Linked DNA regions of Homo sapiens: all the other regions are linked to region 1. Evidence: promoter capture Hi-C in 16 types of primary human blood cells and fetal thymus (Javierre and others, 2016). All regions are on one chromosome and are shown on one strand. Each heading gives the region's core, a stretch centred on a gene start or on the middle of the fragment in contact. The rest is flanking DNA. Distances are from core to core; before and after follow the strand shown. Region 1 holds the start of VAV3-AS1 (VAV3 antisense RNA 1). Region 2 has its middle 54 kb from the start of LINC02785. Region 3 has its middle 36 kb from the start of LINC02785.

Region 1 (3,222 bases), core at 521-3,020:
TAATTTTAAGTGAATGCATCTCAAAAGGGTGACGAAGGACCACATTCCTATCGAACAGCAATAATTCACTGTGGCAATATCTTGCCACAAATAATTTAAACATTAATTGTGGTTTTGAGGGGCAGTGTGCAGTGGGAGTAAAAGGGGTAGGGTTTAGAGTCTCCAAAAGATTTACTTAAGAAACACGAATGCACTGCTTGTGCACTGCGCAAAAGTTCTGGGGTCAAGTTCCAACTTTCACTAAGGATCCCAGAACAGCCCGGCAGGAGCTGCCCAGGGCTAACGCGCTTTGCTCTCAAACCCGGCCGCCAGTCGCCGACGCATGCGCAGTCTAGCACCGTGGCACAGGCCTTTCTCAAGCAGGTTTTTGTGGGGTCAGCAAAAGGGCCAGAACAGCAACGGCAAACAGTTCCGAGCCTGACAGTGCAGGGGCAAACCAGCTCCAAGTGAAAATCACCTCGCGAGGAAATAGGCTCAGGGATCGGGGCGGTTTCCGCAGGCGTCTCCACACACGCACTCTCACTCACTTTGAGGGTGCCAAAACACCACTAGGGGCAACTAGGAGGAATAGGCTGAGGAATCAGCTATAGAGAATGGAGGGGATAGAGCTGCAAGGGGCGAGGGGGCGACGATCTCTAAAACTTTCAGCGCCGTGCTCTACTGATGCTCTAGGCACTTTTTTCATTGCTCTGGGGAGTCTGGGTGCCCCAATTAATCCGTCGCTCCTTTGAGCATTTGTTGTTTAGGGGGTCCTGGGGGACCCCATCGTATTACAGTATTCAGCCACACTCCCCGCAAAGCCGGGAAGCCGCCCCGAGAGAAGACCCCAGGACGCCGGGGGCTGCGTGAGCCCCGCAAGGCTGCAGGCGGGGGCGCGGGATCCCCTTTCTGGCCGCCGCCCCCCTCCGCCGGCCCCTCCCCCGCGCCCCGCCCTCGGCCACAGACCCCAGCCCCGGCCGCCGGCGCGCTCCCACCCGCGCGTCTGGGGACTTGCGGACCGCAGCGAGACCGGCCGGCGTGCTGGGCATGCTCAGTGGCGGGCCGGGCGCTGGAGTCGGAAGCCTGTGCGCGGCAGCCGCCGCCGAGCCGGCCGGGGCGCACGGAGAGCGCGCGGGACTCGCTGCAGCGGCGGCCGGGTCGCGGCGCACCCGGGCCGGGACCGGAGCCGAGCCTAGCGCGGCGCCCGCGACCCGTCAGCCGCGGCTCCTGCTCCCTCGATCCCGCGCGGGGAAAGGGCCGGCGGCTGTTGGCGTCGGCGGGGCGCGGAGGAACCGCGGCGGCGGCGGCGGCGGCCGCATCCTTGCCGCCCGCCCCGGCCCAGCCGCGTCCCGGAGCCGTCGGGCATGGAGCCGTGGAAGCAGTGCGCGCAGTGGCTCATCCATTGCAAGGTGCTGCCCACCAACCACCGGGTGACCTGGGACTCGGCTCAGGTGTTCGACCTTGCGCAGACCCTCCGCGATGGAGTCCTGCTCTGCCAGCTGCTTAACAACCTCCGGGCGCACTCCATCAACCTGAAGGAGATCAACCTGAGGCCGCAGATGTCCCAGGTGAGGAGGCCGGCACGGGCGCCCCGCCTCCAGCCGGCAGCTCCCATTAATCATGCGGCTAATTTCTTTGTGTAAATGCAAACGTCTAGGTGCGCTGAGCTTGCCCTGCTTCCCAGCCTTCTGCTTTGGGACCACTTCGGCACCACTTTGGCGTTTCCTACCTTGGCTTGAAATGGTTTAGCTCCTCAAGCTGAATGCGAAAGCTTTGCGTCCGGAGATGGTGTGAGGATTTCGTAAAGGCTTTCTGTGAGGCGGGAAAGAAATAAGTTGTCTTAGGGTGCCCTTCACCTACTCTGCGTGTGTGTGGCGCGACAAAGGGAATTTGATCAAGCTCTTCTATAATAACGAAGGGGAGGGACGAAACGAGGTGATGGGGTAATTTGCCTTTAGTCTCTTCTTTTGCTTTGCGTCTTGTACTCATGTTTTCCTAAAAGAGGAACCATGACATACATGAGGACTCGAGGAAGTGAAGGGCGTTTGGTCCCGTTATCTGTCCAGGAGTGACATTGGTCAAAGGGAAGAACAGGGAGCAGAACCCGGAGGCCGCCCCCAGGGCCCCTGAGCTGGTGGCCAGCCGGCAAGCTCCCGTTTACAGCTCTTCCTAAGCCATGTGAGAAGGAGCGAGTCCAGCCTCTCTCAGCAGCGACAGGAAATGAGAAGTTTCACTAGAGATTCCGCTTTCCTTCCTGCAGTGCCCTGCTCAGGTGCTGTGGTGCCGGTCGGCTCCTGGGGCTGGAGCTGCCTCTTTGAGGGTTAAGCCAGACACCTCTGGAAGGTTGGGTGCACCCTAGAGTCAGCTCAAAAGTCACAGTTCAGTGGAAGAGTAGTTTATTTGTCCTGTCGGAAAATTTTTGTACAGAAGGATGTTAAACTCGGTTCAGAGCCTCTTTCTCTTTCAGAATGTTAAAACAAAACAAAAAACCAAACTGCTTTCAACTTAAAAGGGAGAGGACAGAGCCCTCTCCCTGACACATTTCAGCACTAATCCTCTATGACGCAGAGCCTCAGCTACTTAGCAACCAGAGCAGCGCCTTTTAAGAAGGAACGGACTTTATATGATTTAATAAGTATGTATTTAAAGTTAGAGCACACACAGTCATCTGTGATTCTTGGTGTCAGTGTTTCATCAGGGTCCCCTGCACTTCAGATTCTGCATTCCTTGCCTGTTTGCCTTCAACCTGCTGGTGGGCAGTCCCTAAGAAAGAACAGGCATGGAAGTGGGGAGAGCCATACGTATTTAAAAGTGAGGTAAATTATTTTATACCCCCATAAACATGCATGGTGATTGCTACCTCTCGGTACCCCTTCAGAGTTGTCTCAACTCTGGAAATTCCTTTGAGGGGTTTGGCAGACTTTTCTATTATGGTGGGAGCTGCAGTTAGCTACTCTCACACATCCCCATTTTCCACTTTGCCTGTAGCCTCAGGAGGCAGCGTGGGTCAGGATGCCTTGGCCCACCAGTAGGGAGTACAGTACTGTGCACATTTCCTGGAACTTGTTTCCTGGAACTCTCAGCAGTTGCTCTCAATAATCACGTTTTCTGGACAGCTGAAGACCTTTTTAAACCTCGAAGCCTTTATTTGAATGCTAACAATGGATGAGAATCGTTTTGAATGTGTTTCACTCTTCTCCTCTTATGTTAGATGTAATTTAATCTTTCTGATGACCAAAGATT
Region 2 (3,222 bases), core at 263-2,762, 150 kb before region 1:
GACAAGGTGTGAGAGGTGAGATGAAATTTTTGCTGTCTTTGGGGGACATGGAGAATATTTCCACACAAAGAAGGTAAGTGAGACATGTTCTGGAGAAAGGAGACGGCGTATGTAAAGGCATACAGACAGGCAGGATAGGTACATCTGGGGAAATTGCAAAGATGTTCTGTGAGGCTGGAGTGCTCCCTGGGGAGAGTGGTGAGAGCTTTGGTTAGAAAGATAGGTTAGTACCAGTTATATGGCACGCTGAGGCACTGGGTTTGATAAGAGAACCACTGGAGGATTTAATCAAAGGGGAATGCATGCTTAGCTGCATCTTTCCGAAAGGTGGATGGGTTGGAGAGGAGTGGATGGGAGGCAGGTGCGGACTGAAGGCAGAGGCTAAGTAAGCCCTTACCTCTCTCATGTCTGTATCCCCATGCGTTGTGTACATTATTTGGCACACGGTTGGTACTTGATAAATATTTGTTGGATGAATAACTGAAAGAAGGAAAATGAAATTTCTGATTTGGGGTGGTGGATGCAAGGTTTTGGGGGGAGCCGTATCTGGGAGAGTTGTGCCTCTCTTCTGCCCCTGCCAGATTTGTCAACCCATGACCCTCATGGCTTCACTGGCTCATAAAAGTGAAGTGTCAATTAGGGAGACTGAGAAGGAAAGAAACACCAAAGAGCTGATATCACAGTAGTTAGGGAATGAGTGTTTCCAAAAGAAAGGAGTGATCAACACCGTTCCATGTAGTACAGATGTCCAAAAAGAGCAAGGTCCTTGAGTTGTGCCAGGTCTGAGGCTTCAGTGAGAACAGTTTGGTGGAGTGGCAGCTACAGACTCCAGATGGCAGTGAGCTGAGGAGTGAAGGGGAGGGAAGGAAGAGGCGTTCAGGAGGGTAGACATTCTTTCTAAAAGCTGGGCTTGAAGGGAAGAAGGGGAGGAGGCAACCTGAGAGGGACGCGTGATCAAAGGGATGCTTTTTTTCAAGGGTGGTAGGCTTATGAATTTGAGAAAAAAACAGCGAGGGAAGAGGTTAAAGTCACTAGGGAGAGATGGAATAAGAGAGATGGACTCAAATATAGATAATTACAATTCAGATACCATTTTTAGTTTGAAGTTTGAAATCTGATTTTTGAAAGAATGAGTAAGTGACAGCTAGGGAAGCAGTAAGGGGTGGAGGGGAGAATGCTGGATTGAGGGTAGGAAACCCGGGTTCTGGTCCCTGCACCTTTCCTGACCAACTGGGAGTGTCCTCAAGCTATCAATCTGCTCTGCGCGTTCGCTGTTTCACCTCCCAAACAAGCCAAGTTCTCTGGAATGATTTCCTTCAGCAAAAGAATTCTATGATTCAAAGTATTGTAAGCTTGGCAATATCTACATTTGAAGGTAAGACTCTTCCCAAAGTACAGTTTGCTTCCCTCATAAATTAGCTACTTCATTTTTGGAATTTTTGCTTTATTTATGTTACCTTTAAGAAGAATTGACATAGTAGGTGAGAAAGAACTTTGGAGACTGAAGAAGTAAAACAGTATGAAAGTCACATTTCTGGTTATTAATAATCATGCTAATATTCTTGACCTACGGACCTCACATGTTTTTCCTATTTTGTATATATTACCCCAGAGTAAGAAATCTTAGCAAAAGGAGAACCAAAATTAAATTAGCTCCTTATCTAAAGCTTTTAGATGCCCTGCTACAAACCTCTCAAGGATAATAAATGAATCACTTCCCTGTGGATGGTGAATTTATGGTTTGCACAATTATTTCCTCATGATTTAATTGAAAATATGAAAGATTAAGCACACAGATACCAGGGATTCTAATACAGGATTACATACTTCCATCCTTTGTGTCTGCAGCACTTGTGGCCTGGAAGATTTAAATAGAAATGCTTGCGAAAGATGATGAGTCAGATGTGGGGCTGGGCCATTCTAGGGCATATTGAAGCACGTGATCACTGGCTGGTGGATGCCATTTTCCAGGGTTCTGTGGAGAGCAGAAGGCTAGCAGTTGCCTTTCCCTACCTCTAGCTTCTTCCTAATCTTGCCCATCAGATCACCCTGCAGGATCTGGCAACGCCACCAACCGTTCACACCCTCAGGCCTGGCAGCACAGGAATTGGCTGGCTTGTTATAATATCAGCCTTATGAACCCACCCATTGCACAGCTCTCTCCTGAACTCTGTATTTCAGAGGCTCAACCAGTTGCGCCAGCTGGAAGCCTGACAACCATCTTCAGTCCTCTTTTTCTTTCTTCCCCCATGTACCATGCATCATCAATGACTGTGGATTTTGCCTCCTCCACAGCCTGTCTTCTGTAACCCCTTGCTCTTGCTGTGTTCATGAGCTGACTCCTCCTCTTTCAGCCTACTCCCTTCATATCCACACACTGCTGCCAGGGTGAAGTTCTGCACCCTGGCATTCAAAGTTCCTCCTGTTTTTGGCCTCAGATGCTTCTGGAGTCTGGTCTGTCATCCCTTTTACTTTCACATCTATTAATAGATCCCCACAAATGTGGTGGCTCCATTTTTGCCTGAACTGTCCTTGGTACATGGCTTTTCCTGCTGCCAGAACTTCATGGTTAATGTCAGCTTCCCTTTGAAGCCTTCCTAGTCCAGTTTCTCCAACCAGCTGAAGAAGGAATTGCTAGTTTCTTTGTTCTACTCCTCTTGTTGCACAGATTAGAGGTTCTACATCATATTTAGAGGTTTAGTTTAATCTATCATCACAATTAGACTCTGAGCTTTTTAAAGGCAGGGGACTAGGTCCTACACATCTTTGTATCTTAACGTCTAGTATATAATAGGCACTCAATACATACATAGTAAATGGAGCTGAGTTTTGTCTTATTCTTTCCCTCATCAGCTATCTAACTTTTTCATTTCTATTTTGAAAAATATGTTAATTAGAATAGAGAGATTTTTACACATATTTTAATAATACTAATACTAATATTACTACTAATAATAATTACTTTTGTGTATTATGTGCTTCCAAAATGCCAGGCACCATTCTAAGAATTTCACATACATTATGTCTTTTATTCCTCACAACAGCCAGGTGAATGAGGCATGATTGCCCTTATGTTATCTACCTGAAGAAACTTAACCTCAGAGATGATGCAATTGGTCTAAAGTCCCACAGCAAATAGACACTGGAACAGGCCTGCAGACCTGGGCCCACCAGGAGCGTGCAGCCTTAGTTGTCTTGCATGGGACTCTTATTAATTGAACT
Region 3 (3,222 bases), core at 260-2,759, 140 kb before region 1:
CTGCTTTCATCTCATTTTTGGATTCTATAGATTCTTTTATACCTGCTCAGTGATGCATTTAAAGTATTTTTTAAACCACATTTTTTTTCTGAATTCTAGTTGATTCAGTTGAGAGAGTTGTTTAGGGTATCTAATTTGTCCATAATGTCAAAAGGAAGACTGTATCTAGTTTACTTTTTGTTCTTTCTGTAGCACAGGAGCAAAACTCACTGGGACAATAGTCCTCTTTTTAAAGTGCTGCAACACCACCAAAAAGACATGGGCAATAGAAAATGTGCTTAGCTGTGGATGACTGGGTTAGTTTTGATTACTAGCTAATAACAAGGTAATTTGATACACTTACCTATTTATCAGTTGTCCAAAATTTCTCAGGTCCTCCTGTCTGCTGAAAGGTAGAAGGTATATTTAATGAATTTAAATACAACTGGCTTGAAGCCAAATTAAAAAGAGAAATATACACTCCCTTCAGTAGAGCAGAAGGTTCTTGGGTGGAGGAGGCTGGCATTTAGAGTTCCAGATTTAGCAAATAAAAATATAATTGTATTTAGCATAAAAACTTATCAGGTAATATTTGGGATGTACTTTATTTTTATAAAAATATTATCTGAAATTAAAACTTAACTAAGGATCCTTTATCTGGCAATCCTATTTGCATTTCTCCTAGTCATCTCTTGCTCACATTTTCTGCTTCCACCAAGTTCTTCCTTGAGGTATTTCATCTTTCATGAATATTTTTCTTACTTTGCTCTTGGTCAACCTAAAGGGAACAGTTTCTTTTTCTTATTTCAATGAAATAAGATGATGATGGTTTGGAGGTTGATGTCAGGTTTGTGTGACACTGCAGCAGAGCCCAGAGAGTAATATGAAATAGAATATTAGCTGTCCCTGTTCATCAAGATGGACCACCATGCCCACAACTTTGAATTTCTCCATAGTGATCTCTTCTCTGGTATCAACCTCCTGCCACTGTACTTGCCTTGTCTCTCTATCTTATCTTCTCCCTGAGTTTCTACACTGTTCTCAGATTCCCTCTACCTCTTCCACAAAAACTTATTTATTATGTAGAACAATTTAGTTATCTCTACTTCATCCGTGGCCTATCCTGAACCCATCTTAAGGGGGATCTTTTTACAATCAAAAGCCAATATGTTACAAATGATCCTTCTGTTTTAAAAGGATTCTGCCACCTAGTTTTTAAAACGATCTTTCTTCTCCCTCCACTCCTCCCCATGTGGTCTTTAATGATTGTAGATGAGAGCATGAAGAAAGAGCAAGGCACGAAAATCTTTATTGGAAGTTCTGAGACTAAGGTGTATTGGAAGGAATCAGGAATACAAGTATTTTGAAATTTAGCTATCTTTTTAAAAATTTATTTTTAAATGGACAAATACAAATTGTATATGCTGATGGTGTTTAACAACAGTTCAAGAAATTTGGCTTTCTTGGTAGAAAAATTATTCAAAGACATTTATAGGATTGGTGAAGCCAGCAAATGTATTCATATTTTTCTTCTAACTGGTGTTAAAATGTTGCTTATGAATACAATATATACCATCAAGTTATACAATTGCTGTTCACATTGTGAAGATCTGTAGTTAAAATGGCATGCTTCACAGTATTGTATGGCTGAAACATTCTTTCTTAGCAATTCTTTTATTTATTGCATCAATAAATCAAAAATTTACAGCACCGTAAATACTTCAGTACTTATGATTACCATTAAGTTATATTTGTGTTTTTAAGACTATCAAACTCACGTAGTAAACATAGTAGCCTCTCTCATAAATAGAACTGAGTAACAGAAGCAAATCGGAGCCTTTAAATGAAAGTGACTGTCACTGAATGCCTGTGAGATTATAGTAAGTGCCTCTCAGGGAGCAAATAGAGCAAATAACTGAATAGATAGTTATTTTTGTCATTGTAATTTTAATAAAACATTGTTCTTAGGTTTCAGATGCATAGCACTGATATTTTCCTTTGGATAGTAATTTTTTAAAAACAATTTCAAGTTTTATTTTAGATTTCAGGGGGTATACATATAGGTTTGTTACATGGCGATATTGCATGATGCTGAGGTTTGGGGTACAAATGATCTCATCACCCAGGTAGTGAGCATAGTACCAATGGGTAGTTTTTCAGCCCTTGCTCCCCTCCCCTCTCCCACTTTAAGTAGTCCCCAGTCTCTATGGTTCTTATCTTTGTGTCCAGATGTACCCAATGTTTAACTCCCACTTGTAAGTGAGAACATGTGGTATTTGGTTTTCTGTTCCTGCATTAATTCAGTTAGGATGATGATCTTAGCCACTTTAATATAACCACCACTCTTGCTATAGTTCTATGTGTTGGCTTAGAGTCCCAAGGGTAACACTTCTGCAACCAGTGGATTTCAGGCTCACCTCAATGCTCCTAGGGTCAATCGTTCACTTCTATTGTTAGCTGACATGGGTAAATGCCTTATGAAATAAGGCAGAATTTTTCAAGGTTGTTGGCACTGAAAATTACAGATTTTATTATGAGCCGACAATGATCTTTCATGAGGGCCTTATGGTAGATTGTATTAATGGATTGCATTATCCAGTTCTTTGCTGCTCCCTGCTTCTATACTCTTGCTATGGCTTCATTGTGGCTGAAATGTATTTCCCTACTCCATGACTTTGGGCTCAGCTTTGTGATCTATTCTTGCTAATGTCATGTGTGTAGAAGTGACAGTGTACTGATTCCAAACGTAGGCCATAAGAGGCCTTGTACATTTCCGCAGGCCATCTTGTGCCTCTGTCATCACCATGAGAAGGACATGCCTGGATTAGCCTATTGGTCCAAGGAGGATGAGAGACATGTGGAGCACAGCTGCTCAGCCATGCCTAGTCTAGGTCAGCCCACTTGTAGATGTGTTAACAATAACAAATGACGGTTGCTTTAAACCACTGAGTTTTGTGTTTTTTTAAAATATAATTTTTTTGTGGTAATAACTGTCTGAGACCAGCAGATGTTATGAAGTCTCTAAATGAATGATTTTCCACTTCAACTTCAATTTTACCATCATTCTGGTTGATGTTCCTACCTGCAGGATGCGTTGTCCTGAAAAGGAATCTGAGGTCGGATCTAGGTATAGCACAAAAGTGATGTGATTGATTACTAATGCCTGCTACAGGACTGGGAAGGGAAGGTAGAAGGATGCACACTCCATGTCTTCCATCGTCACTTAGACTCATCCTACATGTA

Evidence for each region. Contacts are between HindIII fragments. The CHiCAGO score rates a contact against its expected background, and 5 or more counts as called.
Region 2: a contact is called between a fragment that was not itself captured here and the fragment with the promoter of VAV3-AS1 in region 1, in 16 of 17 cell types (megakaryocytes, M0 macrophages, M1 macrophages and 13 more). The highest score is 28.8, in megakaryocytes.
Region 3: a contact is called between a fragment that was not itself captured here and the fragment with the promoter of VAV3-AS1 in region 1, in 13 of 17 cell types (activated CD4 T cells, megakaryocytes, total CD8 T cells and 10 more). The highest score is 9.1, in activated CD4 T cells.

The regions. Positions count from the first base shown.
Region 1 is chr1:107,962,991-107,966,212 of GRCh38, reverse strand. VAV3-AS1 (VAV3 antisense RNA 1) reads right to left here and starts at 1,770. Exons shown (of 3, transcript NR_046653.1): 1 at 1,709-1,770. It overlaps VAV3 (vav guanine nucleotide exchange factor 3), which reads left to right and starts at 1,033. Exons shown (of 27, transcript NM_006113.5): 1 at 1,033-1,547. The coding sequence starts at 1,344. RefSeq lists enhancers at 247-316, 252-546, 1,893-2,022. The HindIII fragment of the contact is 9,456 bases long and covers 1,753-3,222 here.
Region 2 is chr1:108,117,326-108,120,547 of GRCh38, reverse strand. No RefSeq gene overlaps it. Among named protein-coding and RNA genes, the nearest start is that of LINC02785, 54 kb to the right of the region's middle. The HindIII fragment of the contact is 315 bases long and covers 1,355-1,669 here.
Region 3 is chr1:108,099,339-108,102,560 of GRCh38, reverse strand. No RefSeq gene overlaps it. Among named protein-coding and RNA genes, the nearest start is that of LINC02785, 36 kb to the right of the region's middle. The HindIII fragment of the contact is 4,273 bases long and covers 1-3,222 here.